Regions from separate parts of the Homo sapiens genome. Here region 1 is linked to region 2. The links are contacts of gene promoters, found by promoter capture Hi-C in human tissues and cell types (Jung and others, 2019). All regions are on one chromosome and are shown on one strand. The core of a region is centred on a gene start or on the middle of the fragment in contact, and the rest is flanking DNA. Distances in the headings are between cores, read along the strand shown. Region 1 overlaps LOC121725015 (a long non-coding RNA gene). Region 2 holds the start of TMEM200C (transmembrane protein 200C).

Region 1 (5,238 bases), core at 1,305-3,804, 44 kb before region 2:
ATGTCATACGATGTCATCCGAACTTTGGTTTCAGAGTTCCTTTTATATTTTAAAGAGAAAACAAAAGAGACAATGATTCTTGTTTTCCTTTCTATTTTTTTTCCTTCTTAGTCTTTAAGCAGTGAAGCAGACTTGAGAACAATGCTCTTTTCTCTGCATCCAGCCTACTTCCCAGCTTCTGGGATCAGAGGAGAAGAACAGGTGAAAAAAACACAAAGTCACCTTGTCCCTTATGAAATACTTATGTAACATTGCATGGATCCAATGTACATAGCACGGCAGTGTTCAAATGCAGCCTGCTCTGTGAATGCCAAGATGGAAGGAGGAAGCAAGCATCTTCCCCCTTCTCCCCTCTCCTCTCAGTTCTTTTCTCATGCAAATGGAAGCTGGCAAAGCCTCCTGCTCCTTCTCCTCTGAGCACTGAAGTCTTTTGCTCAGCCCAAACATCATCACTGCACTGCAGTGAGGGGCCACATGGAACGGAGCAACCATCTGCCTTGTGCCTGGGGAGGGTTCCCTCTGTGGAGGCAGCATTTTATGGTAGCAGGGAGAGTTCTGCGGAAAGGTTTGGCTCTGTAGACAGGAGGGCTGGAAATCAGAGATGTGACTTCCTGGAGTTTTACAAGATCATCTGCCTTCTCTTGGAAATTCTCAGGTTGGAATGTGAGGCTTGGCAGCTGCTGCCACTGCTGCTTACAGTGATAATAACATCAATAATACGAATATTCACCACCTTTTCACCCGCCAACTTACTTCATTCTCATAGCAACTCTACGAGGTAGGTCCTTTTACCACCCTCACTTTACAGATGCGGAACTTGGCACAGGCAGCTCATATCACCTGCTCAAGATCACACAGGCAGGGAGCAGGATTTGAACCCAGGTATTCTGGATGTACAGGCCACACAAACCACTATGCTGGTAGCATGGCAGCAAATGGTGCTGAACAAAACCCTGAGAAAAATAGCCAAATTTGCCACCATTCCTCATTCTGCATTTCAAATTGTTTTCTAATGATCTGGCCCAGCTAGTTGCTAACAAATCCCATAGGGCCAGTCAGCTTGGTACAGGGTAGACTTTGCAAAGACACATCACACGGTGCACTCCCAACCTCCCTGTCCTAGTCTGTTTGTGCTGCTGTAACAAAATGCCACAGATTCAGTAATTTATAAAGAATAGAAATTTATTTCTTATGGTTCTGGAGGCTCTGAAGTCCAAGATCAAGGTACCAGCAGATTCAGTGCCTGTTGAGGGCCTGGGCCTTTTTGCTATATCCTCATGTGCTGAAGAGGCAAAAAGGGATGCATGTTGTGTTTTCACAGCAGAAGAGATGGGAAGGCCAGGCCAGGCTATTGTCTGAAACTATTGTGTGTGTGTGTGTGTGTGTGTGTGTGTGTGACAAGGTCTCACGCTGTTGCCTAGGCCGAAGTGCGGTGGTGCAATCATAGCTCACTGCAGCCTCAACCTCCTGGGCTCAAGTGATCCTCCTGCCTCAGCTTCCAAAGTAGCTGAGACTACAGGTGCACCGCACCATGCCCAGCTAATGTTTTACTTTTAATAGAGATAGGGTCTCATTATGTTGCCCAGGCTAGTTTTGAAATCCTAGGCTCAATGATCCTCTCATCTCAGCCTGTCAAAGTACTGGGATTACATGCATAAGCCACTGCACCTGGCCTGAAGCTTCTTTTATAAAGAGGCCTCGTGACTTACTCACTTCCCGAAAGTCTCTACCTCTTAATACCACCACAATGGGCATTAAGTGTCAACATGAATTTTGGAGGGACACAAATAGTCAAACCATCACCCTTGCCCAGCAAAATCACCCTGAACCATGCATTTATGGTGTACAGAGAGAGTCAAGAAAGAGTGGGGATGGTGCAGTCCAAACCCTTGTGCTCGTTGGGGAACAAAAAGTGCACAGTTGATGAATAGTCCAATGTTTGGTTACAGGAAAGACATCCAGGTTTATTCCTTTATTGCACAACATTGATTGAGGGCTCAGGATGTGTTAGTTGTGGTGTTATGCTCTGTGAGGTAGCATGTCCATTGTCAAGTGATCAGGCCCTGGGTCAGCCTTCTTTCAGCCTCCTGGATGCCTACACATCCGGGGTCACATCCAACTGGGCACTCCTCTCGTGGTTCTTCCTTAACACAACCTCTTCAAGCTCCTCCCCTAGATGACACCATGTTGAGCTCAGCTGCAGCAGCAGTGAATTATACAGGGTGGGTGCTCACTGAACAATTTCTAAATGACTGAGTGAAGAAGTGAAGACAGCTGTGTCCTGGATGCCTCCACTGAGACCAAAGGTATCTTGGGGCTTTTGAGAACAACTTCAGTGGCCTCTATGCTCCTGCCTTTTCCCTCTCACAGGAAACTCACATGGCTGAGCCTCTGGATCCTGGCTTTGAGAACTGCTTCTCAGAGCTTCTCATCTGCAGATTGCATCCCCTGCCAGCCAAGGGCCCCGAAGTCTGTCTTTAAGGAGCTGAACATCTGGTTAATCATGGGCCCAAGAAGCAGGTGCATGGCCCACAGCTGCAAGATCATGTGGCTGCTGAGGGCCTGAAGTCGCAAGTCTAGCTCCATCTATGTGCCCACCGCCTTCCCAGAACAGCACTCCTCCTTGCTTCTCTGGGCCTGCATCGGTTGGCAATGGGCAGTCTGAAAGCAAAAGCCCATGATGGTTTTCAGCCACAGGATCTCAGCAAGGCTTTCTTCCCACCATGGCATGGCTGGTTTTCTGAGCCCGCTAGGCTTTCTGCAAACAGTGCTTCAGTAAAACCTAGGATGCAAGCAGAGGCCGTGCTGTCCCCCCAGGGAGTCTCCTCTTCCCCAAGGGGCTCAAACTGTTGCTGCTCACTTTTCTATTAAGACTCTATAATCCAATGAGAGATTTTATAACATAAAGTTAGGAAATAATTCTATATGTTACAAGCAGTAATAAAATTAATACTGTGAAAATGTGTTTGCCTTAAATATAACTGCAAAGAGGTTATGATATAGAAATATGTCTTCAAAATTAATAACATCATGGTTAATCTAACAGACTATCAGGCAATGGACATAAATAACGTAAGCAAAATTACACATAGCCATAAGAGGAAATATTTACTATTACTAGTAATCAAATAAATGTCAAAGGTTCAAATAATAAAACACCATATATATGTATAAATATATATAAATATATATGTATTATATATATATATATATATTTTTTTTTTTTTGAGACAGAGTCTTGCTCTGTTACCAAGGCTAGAGTGCAGTGGCGCGACCTCGGCTCACTGCAACCTCTGTCTCCCAGGTTCAAGTGATTCTTCTGTCTCAGTTTCCTGAGTAGCTGGGACTACAGGCATGCACCACCATGCCGGGCTAATTTTTGTATTTTAGTAAATACAAAATACAAAATACATGGTTTCACCATGTTAGCCAGGCTGGTCTCGAACTCCTGACCTCAGGCAATCAGCCCGCCTCGGCCTCCCAAAGTGCTGGGATTCCAGGAGTGAGCCACCGTGCTTGGCTAAAACACCGTATTTTGATGCTGAAACATTTGTCAAATGATGCAAAGGCTATGAGGCCAGTGGACAGGGAGGCAGACACACTCACACTCCATCCTCTGGCCCTTAGAAGGACACACTTCTTGAAAGACTTGTTGAACTCTTTGTCTTTCTTTCCTGACCCCAATAACACAAGTCAACACCTAGCATGATGGCGCCTTCCTCCACCTTTCCTAGCATCTGTGCTACCAAAAATGACCACTGAGCACCTTCTTAAATCCAATGGAGACTTTTCCACTATCATTTGAAGTGATTTGTCAACCACAGTGTCACTGATATCCAACTCTGTACTTTTATACCTTCACACCATGGACTTCTGTGGCCTCACTGCAGCCCTCCTCCTGGGCTGACTGCTCCTTTGTAAGCTTCCCGGCCTTTGTCCGTGTCTGCTGGCCTCCCTGGCTCTGTGTCAACTCATAGGGCCATCTCAGTGGCCTGTATGGTGGGATGTATCTGAGGCAGGTGCTGCAGGAGGGCTGTCCCTTTGGCGACCCTTCCAACAAAATAATCTGTAACTAATTGCTCAACCTGTATTCAAGACCAAAGCTTGCAAAGCTTCCCAGAAAAGCCAATGCCCCTAGAGCTGATCAGACACCCTCCCCAGAGGAAGACTTTTGATTCTCTGTCCTTGATGGTCTCACCGCCTCACCCCAAATGACAGACCAGAACATTTCTCCCTGAGGGAAGGTCTTGAGAACATAATTGTCTCTTATTGGTGCTTTTTAGCCCCCTTTCTAGGTTAGGTGCCGGGTCACAGTTGCTGGCCTGCTCCTCGCTCCATCTCAGTTCAGATCAATGACTCCCAACATATTGTCTTCATCCTGTAGTTCCCCCTGCCCCCTAGCTCCAGACCTGTAGCTATAAGAGCTCACTGCCTCCCCTTGAATTTCCCCTTCAAATGTGGTAGATTCAAAGTGAAACAAACTCAACTCACCAAGCACCTGCTCTCTGCACACCTCCAGCCATCTCCTGTGCCTGTGTGCCCTCTCTGCCTGCCTGGGGCCACCACCCACCCAGTCATACACATAGGACAAGCTCAAGAGCCCTCCAACTCACTTAGTCACTTCCCCCAAATCAGATGTGACTGAATCCTATCGATTTTGCTTCCTAAATAGCCTGGGAACAGCCCCTCTCCACTCTGGCTGCCATTTTCCTATGGAAATGACAGTGTTTCTCACCTAGATTACTTTCACCACCTCCCACATAGCCTCCCTGCCTCCAGCCTTCTCCCTTCTTGGATATGCACCAAAGTGACCTTTATCTAATACCCAGGGTTAATCACTTCCCACTCCTACTGAGAACATTTCAATGGCTCCTTATTGCCCCCCAGTTTCTCAAATGCCTTAGATCAGTGGTCACCAACCATTTTGGCACAAGGGACCAGTTTCATGGAAGACAATTTTGCTACAGACCAGGGGTTGCGGGGAGATAGTTTCGGGATGAAACTATTCCACCTCAGATCATCAGGCATTACATTCTCATAAGGAGCATGCGCCCTAGATCCCCTGTGTGCACAGTTCACAATAGTGTTTGCGCATCTGTGAGAGTCTAATGCCACTGCTGATCTGACAGGAGGCAGAGGTCAGGCGGCAATGCTCGCTCATCTGCTGCTCACCTCCTGCTGTGGGCCCTGTTCCTAATAGGCCACAAACTGGTACTGATCTGTGTCTCGGGGGTTGGG
Region 2 (5,492 bases), core at 1,439-3,938:
CCCCTACGCAGCCCTGGGAGCACAGGCAGGCGAGTCAAGCACACCAGGCTAGGTTGGTGAAATGATCCAGGAAGTAAATGAGTTGTGAATAAATTATGAGACTGAATAAATTATATAAGGATTTTTTTTTAAGATAGAGCAAATGAAAGGTTGCAGGTCAGAATTTAATCCAACTAAACTAAGCTAATCTTCATCCTCTTCTCTTACTTTCCCAGGGCCTTCATTATGTTCCCTGCTACAAGGTCAGAAGGCTGTGCTGAGCTCCAAAATCTGGAGACACTAGTGAATTATTAAGACTAGGTAGTTGTAGCCTTTCAGTCCTTAGCACGGTGAAAGTGGGGTCCCACAGTCTCGGAAATCATCCAAACTGAAATGGCCAGGGAGATTAGAAGGAAAATAACGCCAGAAGGGCCAAGAGTATCCTTGTTCCTTTAAAAATAACTCTAATAACTTGAAAGCCCCTGGGAATGTATGTTGATTCTGTATTACAGAGGGGATAACGGACTCCGCTGGAAACAGATGTGATCTGCTTGATTTCCTCTGATACCATGAGCTGAAAACAAAGAAAACTACTGAACGTGATAACATTCAGGTTAAACAGTTCAAAGTTCCAAAAAGCGCAGTTTGGAAGGAAGCCTTTGAGTAATAAGCCATAAATTTTGTTGCAATCATCAACATAAGACAAAACTAGCTATGTCCCAAGGCCCTTTGTCTAGAAAAGAATTCTTTTCTTCTCCAAATCCCTCAAATGAGTTTTAAATGTGCAAATGATGGCTATAATTTACACAGAAACTTGAAACTATTAGCAGTTTAATCCACCTAAAATCCTAATGAAGTTCTGCAGTATTATTCCTGTTTGTACAGCCCAGCAAACAGAGCACAGGAACTGCCGCCCATAGACTCTGGCAGCTAGCTGTGCAATGAAATGAGACTGTAGGCCCAATCTTTGTAAAAAATACCAGATTATTATTGGGATTCAGGAGATCTGGAAGTTCAGAGCCAAAAAGGCTTTAGAAAACGACAACTAGATCTTATTATTTTTCCTTTGCAGTGATTTCTCTAAAAGGAAACAACCCAATGTGGGATTTAAAACTTTCCCTTCATTATGGTTTGTTTTCTAATAGCCTGAATCTGAGCATGAATAGGTAGGGGGAAGGCGGTGGGTTCCGGACACCCTGATCATCATTCAGATTCGTTATTTGCTTGAAAAGGGTGACAGAGGCCACCTTTCCAACAGGTGAATGCAGGGTTGCCTTTTAGAAAACACTTCTGCTTCGTTCCCTCCTGTCCCCCACCGTCTCTATCCCCATCTCTTAGATCACTGTTCACATTTATATCATTGAACTTGTAAATTGGTTGTCTTTATTGTTCTTTTTGAAAAGTGTCTGCTCTAGATTTAAGCACAAGTGAATGCTGTGTATGTGGGGAACAATCTTGTAACAGGAGCTGCGGGCAGCAGAGCCCTCCTGTGTGGGTTTTGTGGACCCCTAAGCAGCAAAACTCAGAATATATAACACCCACCACCACCAAAATATTTATCTGGATCCAAAATTTCAGACAGCACTTGCTTCATCTGCTCTTCTGTTCCTTTCTTCCTGAATCCTGGCTGCCTCATTTCAATAGATAAATGAAATCTTTCTCACTTTCTCAATACTCTTTGGGGAAATTCCACTTTGAAATTCTCTTTTCCCTGTCATTTTTACTTTACAGTTGAGAAGACAGGGATGAACTAGGAAACAGGATCTCGATCTCTTTCTCTCTCTCTCTCGCCTTCTCTCTTTTTTAAATGACGTAGGGAGTTTGGACATCCTCCCTACCCCCACCTCCCCTCTCTGATTCCAACCCTGATTCCTGATTCCTGGAGAATTATAGTTTTCCTTTTAATGCTTGCTGATTACCGCACCGGGGAGGAGCAGGAGGGGCTGCCCAAGGAAGAGCCCCGGAGCCCATTCTGATCTCCGAGGAGCCCCAGCTGCCGGGTCCCGGTCAGGCTGGTCACAAAGCCCGGCGGGGCTGGAGCGCGAGCGCATCTGGCAGAGGCTTCCAAGCGTCCCGCGGTGCGCCCGTCCCGGCGGGGGCGGCTCCACTCCGCCCGGGCCCGAGTTCGCTGGGGGACAACTTACTGTGCTTGCCGAGCGTCCACACTGCAAACTCCCAAGCGGGAGGGGGAAGAGAGCCCAGGCTGCGCCGTGCCGAGGAGTAGAGGCAACAAAAGACCGAGGCACGAGGGGAGGGAGGCAGGCACGGAGGGACCGCGGACTCTGGCCCCTAGCTCCCCGAGAGCGCCCCTCGGATGCTGCTGGGGAGACCCTCCGGGCCTCTCTTTGGGGCCTCTGGGGCCCGCGGCTCAGACAGGTAGTTGGAGGAAAGAAGAACAAAGCTGCCCGCGGAGGCAGGCGGCGGTCTCGGGGCGCCCCGGGGCGGGGAGAGCCGAGGCCGAGGAGGCACCCCGCGCCCCCTGCCCCGCGGCCCGAGCGCCCCGTGCCGGCTGCCTCCGCCGCCTCCCCTCACGCCTCCTCCTCCCCGAGGAATCGGCGCTTCCGAAGGGACGGGCGGCGGGCGGCGGAGGACGCGGGGGAGCGGGGAAGGCCGGCGGCGTGGGGGGGGGCGCCGGAGGAGGGGGTGGGGCGGGGGGCGGGGGCGGGGGCGCCCCCCGACTCCGCCGAGCCGGGCGGGCCCCGACCGCCACCCTGCCGCAATTTCCCTGTGTCATGGCTCCGGTCTCTTAGCAACAGCCGCCAGTCCGGCCGCCCCGAGCCGCCGCCGCGGGCTCAACTCCACCCGGCGGAGCCCGGCGCGCCGCAGCCACACAAAAGAGGCGCGAGGGCCGGCGGCGCGGCCGCAGGGGCCCGCCCGGGAGCGCCGCGCTAGGGGACGCCGGGAGCTGGAGGATGAGCGGCGGAGAGGAGGGCTCCGAGGCGGGATGCGGGATGCGGGATGCGGAGGACCTGACACTTCTTGGAAACTCTTGGAAATGGCTCCCGCCACAGCGCCGGCGGGGACTGCGAGCCTGGGGCGGGCGCTCGCCCCCGCGGGGCTGCTGAGTCGCGCTCGGATGCGGGGCCCCGGGGCGCTGTCCCTGCGCTCCGCCGTCGGCTCGGGCTGAAAAAGTTTCTCCATGGTTCCTTTGTGTCGCCCGAGCGCCCGTTCGCCGGCCCCGACCTCCCTCGGTCTCCCTGGGTAAGTGAGCGATCTTGCGTGCGGAGAGTGCTGCCATTTTGAGCAATTCTGCCAGTCCCCAGCCCTTGGGGGCCCCTCCCCGCCCCTCGGGTCCCCGAGTCCCCGCGCCCCGGGCTGGTGTTCGGTGAGAGGCTTTTTCCCGGGCTGGCTACACGGGATGCGCTGCCCAGAAAAAGCTAGTTCAGGATTGCCCTCACTTGGCTCCTGCCTGTCTTCTTTCCAGAGGCGGACTCCCAGCTGCTGCACTCATGTGACTCCAGCTAACATCAATAAGCAGACCAAAGCCAGGGGCCAGGGGGTCGCCGCCCTGCCAGTGAGGGGCCGGGGTCGAGGACCTGGGTTGGGTACCGGGCACAGCACAGCGCTCCCAGCCTGTGGGATCCGAGCCTCCGAGCCTCAGAGTGGGGCTTAATCCATCTTGAGCGGAGAACTTGAATGTCTCTCTTGGAAGCAGTTGTATTTTTAGACATCCCTCCTTTGCTTCCCCCATCCTCCATTCTTTAACCACGGTAAGACCAGCTCCAGGCAGTAAATTGCGAGGGCAGCCAAGCTTGACTGCTAAGTTTGTTTTCTTTCATTAGGTATAAAGGAAAACCTCAAAGGTGGGTCTCCCGTGGCATCTGACCTTTGTCTGTATTTCGTGTCAGATGATGATACATTAAAAGGGAGTACAGCCTTCAACAGAGCTGAAGGAATAATAAACGAGGGAGTTAATTACTAGCTATTAAACTCATTTTAAAGATGTGCGGTAAAGGACTGTTGAAATCCATTCCAACCTTCCTTACATTCTACCGGAGCCAAAGCTGCCTTGCTGAGGAGAAATCCAAGTGGGTTTCCTCCTCCCCCAAGGCATCCAGCCTCCCGGCGCACCTGATCAATGCCCAACAAAACATGTAGCCTTTCTGCGGTGGGAGAGCCACCCTGCCAACTGAGTCTGAGTTCGCTTCTAAAAAATGTCTGGTCCTTAAAGCCTTCTTAAGATAACCACGGATCTCCAGATTATTTAAGATGCTGGACTCCAAGGATCACTTAAAACAACAGTCTCTATGTTACAACCACATAATAAATGTGCTTACTTATTTGGGATTAGAGATAGACAGTAAGCTCTTTTTTTTGTTTGTTTCAATCTGTACTTACTGGTGCAGCTTAAAGGTTTATAGATGTATTCTCTATACTGACCCCTCTCTTATCTACCTGGTGCTTCTCTTTACTGAAACCCAGCTAAGTCCCAAAGAGATATTGATTTGCAAATATTGCAAAGAGCTGATTACCATTTACATTCCCACTGATGGAGAAAAGATCCTGCCTATATTGATATAATGGAGGAACTCAAGGGCCAAAGCCTTTCACCCAATCACCAATTAAAAGCAAAATTCTACCTACCACACATTTTCAAGGGGGAATTTATTCTAAAACATGAATTATCTGATAAAGGATAGAAGAGCAAAAGGCTTGGGCGTGATATCTAAGTCTTTCAGTTCATACAATGTCCTTGATTTTAGCATCTCATAGGAGGGAAAACAACTAATGGGACAGAAAATGTTCTACTCTGGAGATACAGCAAGACTGTAATTTTTAGAGGCTGCCGAATAACTACAAATATGCATTTGTGAATTTTCCTACCCAGGCTTTTACAAACAACTAAATAAACTTCCTAAGAGTAGTCCATTGATTGTTGCCACCCTCCCTTCCTAAAAATGACCTCATGAGAAAGGGATAAGGGGGAAAAACAAAACAAAACAAAACAGTTTTGGCTTGGGGGAAATGTCATTCTACAAATCATCATATTATGTAGACTGCTTTACCTAGTTAGTTGCCTACTCATTTGAATACTGGGACTCTGTAGCATGCTCTTGGCACCTTAATAAGGGGTCAGAAAGCTATTATGGCAGAGTGTTAGTTTTTTTAATTGTAATTTTCCCATATGAGAAAAAGATCTTTCTCTTGGAGATTCCAGGGGACTTCTCAAATTCCCTGATGAAATCTGACACATGATACCTTTAAGGGAGTTCCTCTGAGGGAGGAAAGAAGGCCAGAAGGAAGAGCTCAGTTACATAAGCAGTTACCTAAAACTAAATATTCCACCCCAAGAAGCTGTCCAGATGTTGCTGAGAGGAGAGAAGAAGGCTGTGCAAGGGATCTGCCTGCACATAGCTGTAGGAACAGGCATAGGTGGGAGACAACTTTGTGAAGGGATTTATTGTCAGAGTATTGCAATATCTCTGCTGCTTCCCCAGTGGTGAACTCTCTATTAATTATCTGAAGTAAATAAACCGCCTGCCTGCCATTATATGACCTTTGATTTTCATCCA

The links. The method cuts DNA at HindIII sites, captures the fragments that hold promoters and counts their contacts. A contact is called where the count stands out against the background at its distance.
Region 1: a contact is called between a fragment that was not itself captured here and the fragment with the promoter of TMEM200C in region 2, in 4 of the 25 tissues and cell types used here (IMR-90 fibroblasts, bladder, neural progenitor cells and 1 more).

What each region holds. Positions count from the first base shown.
Region 1 is chr18:5,937,240-5,942,477 of GRCh38, reverse strand. All of the region lies in intron 1 of LOC121725015 (a long non-coding RNA gene), which reads right to left. Among named protein-coding and RNA genes, the nearest start is that of TMEM200C, 44 kb to the right of the region's middle. RefSeq lists an enhancer at 125-633. The HindIII fragment of the contact is 5,747 bases long and covers 1-5,238 here.
Region 2 is chr18:5,892,718-5,898,209 of GRCh38, reverse strand. It overlaps TMEM200C (transmembrane protein 200C), which reads left to right and starts at 2,688. Exons shown (of 2, transcript NM_001395400.1): 1 at 2,688-3,180. The region is part of intron 9 of MIR3976HG (MIR3976 host gene); the gene reads right to left. It overlaps LOC121725015 (a long non-coding RNA gene), which reads right to left and starts at 2,483. Exons shown (of 3, transcript NR_172505.1): 1 at 2,124-2,483. The HindIII fragment of the contact is 12,914 bases long and covers 1-5,492 here.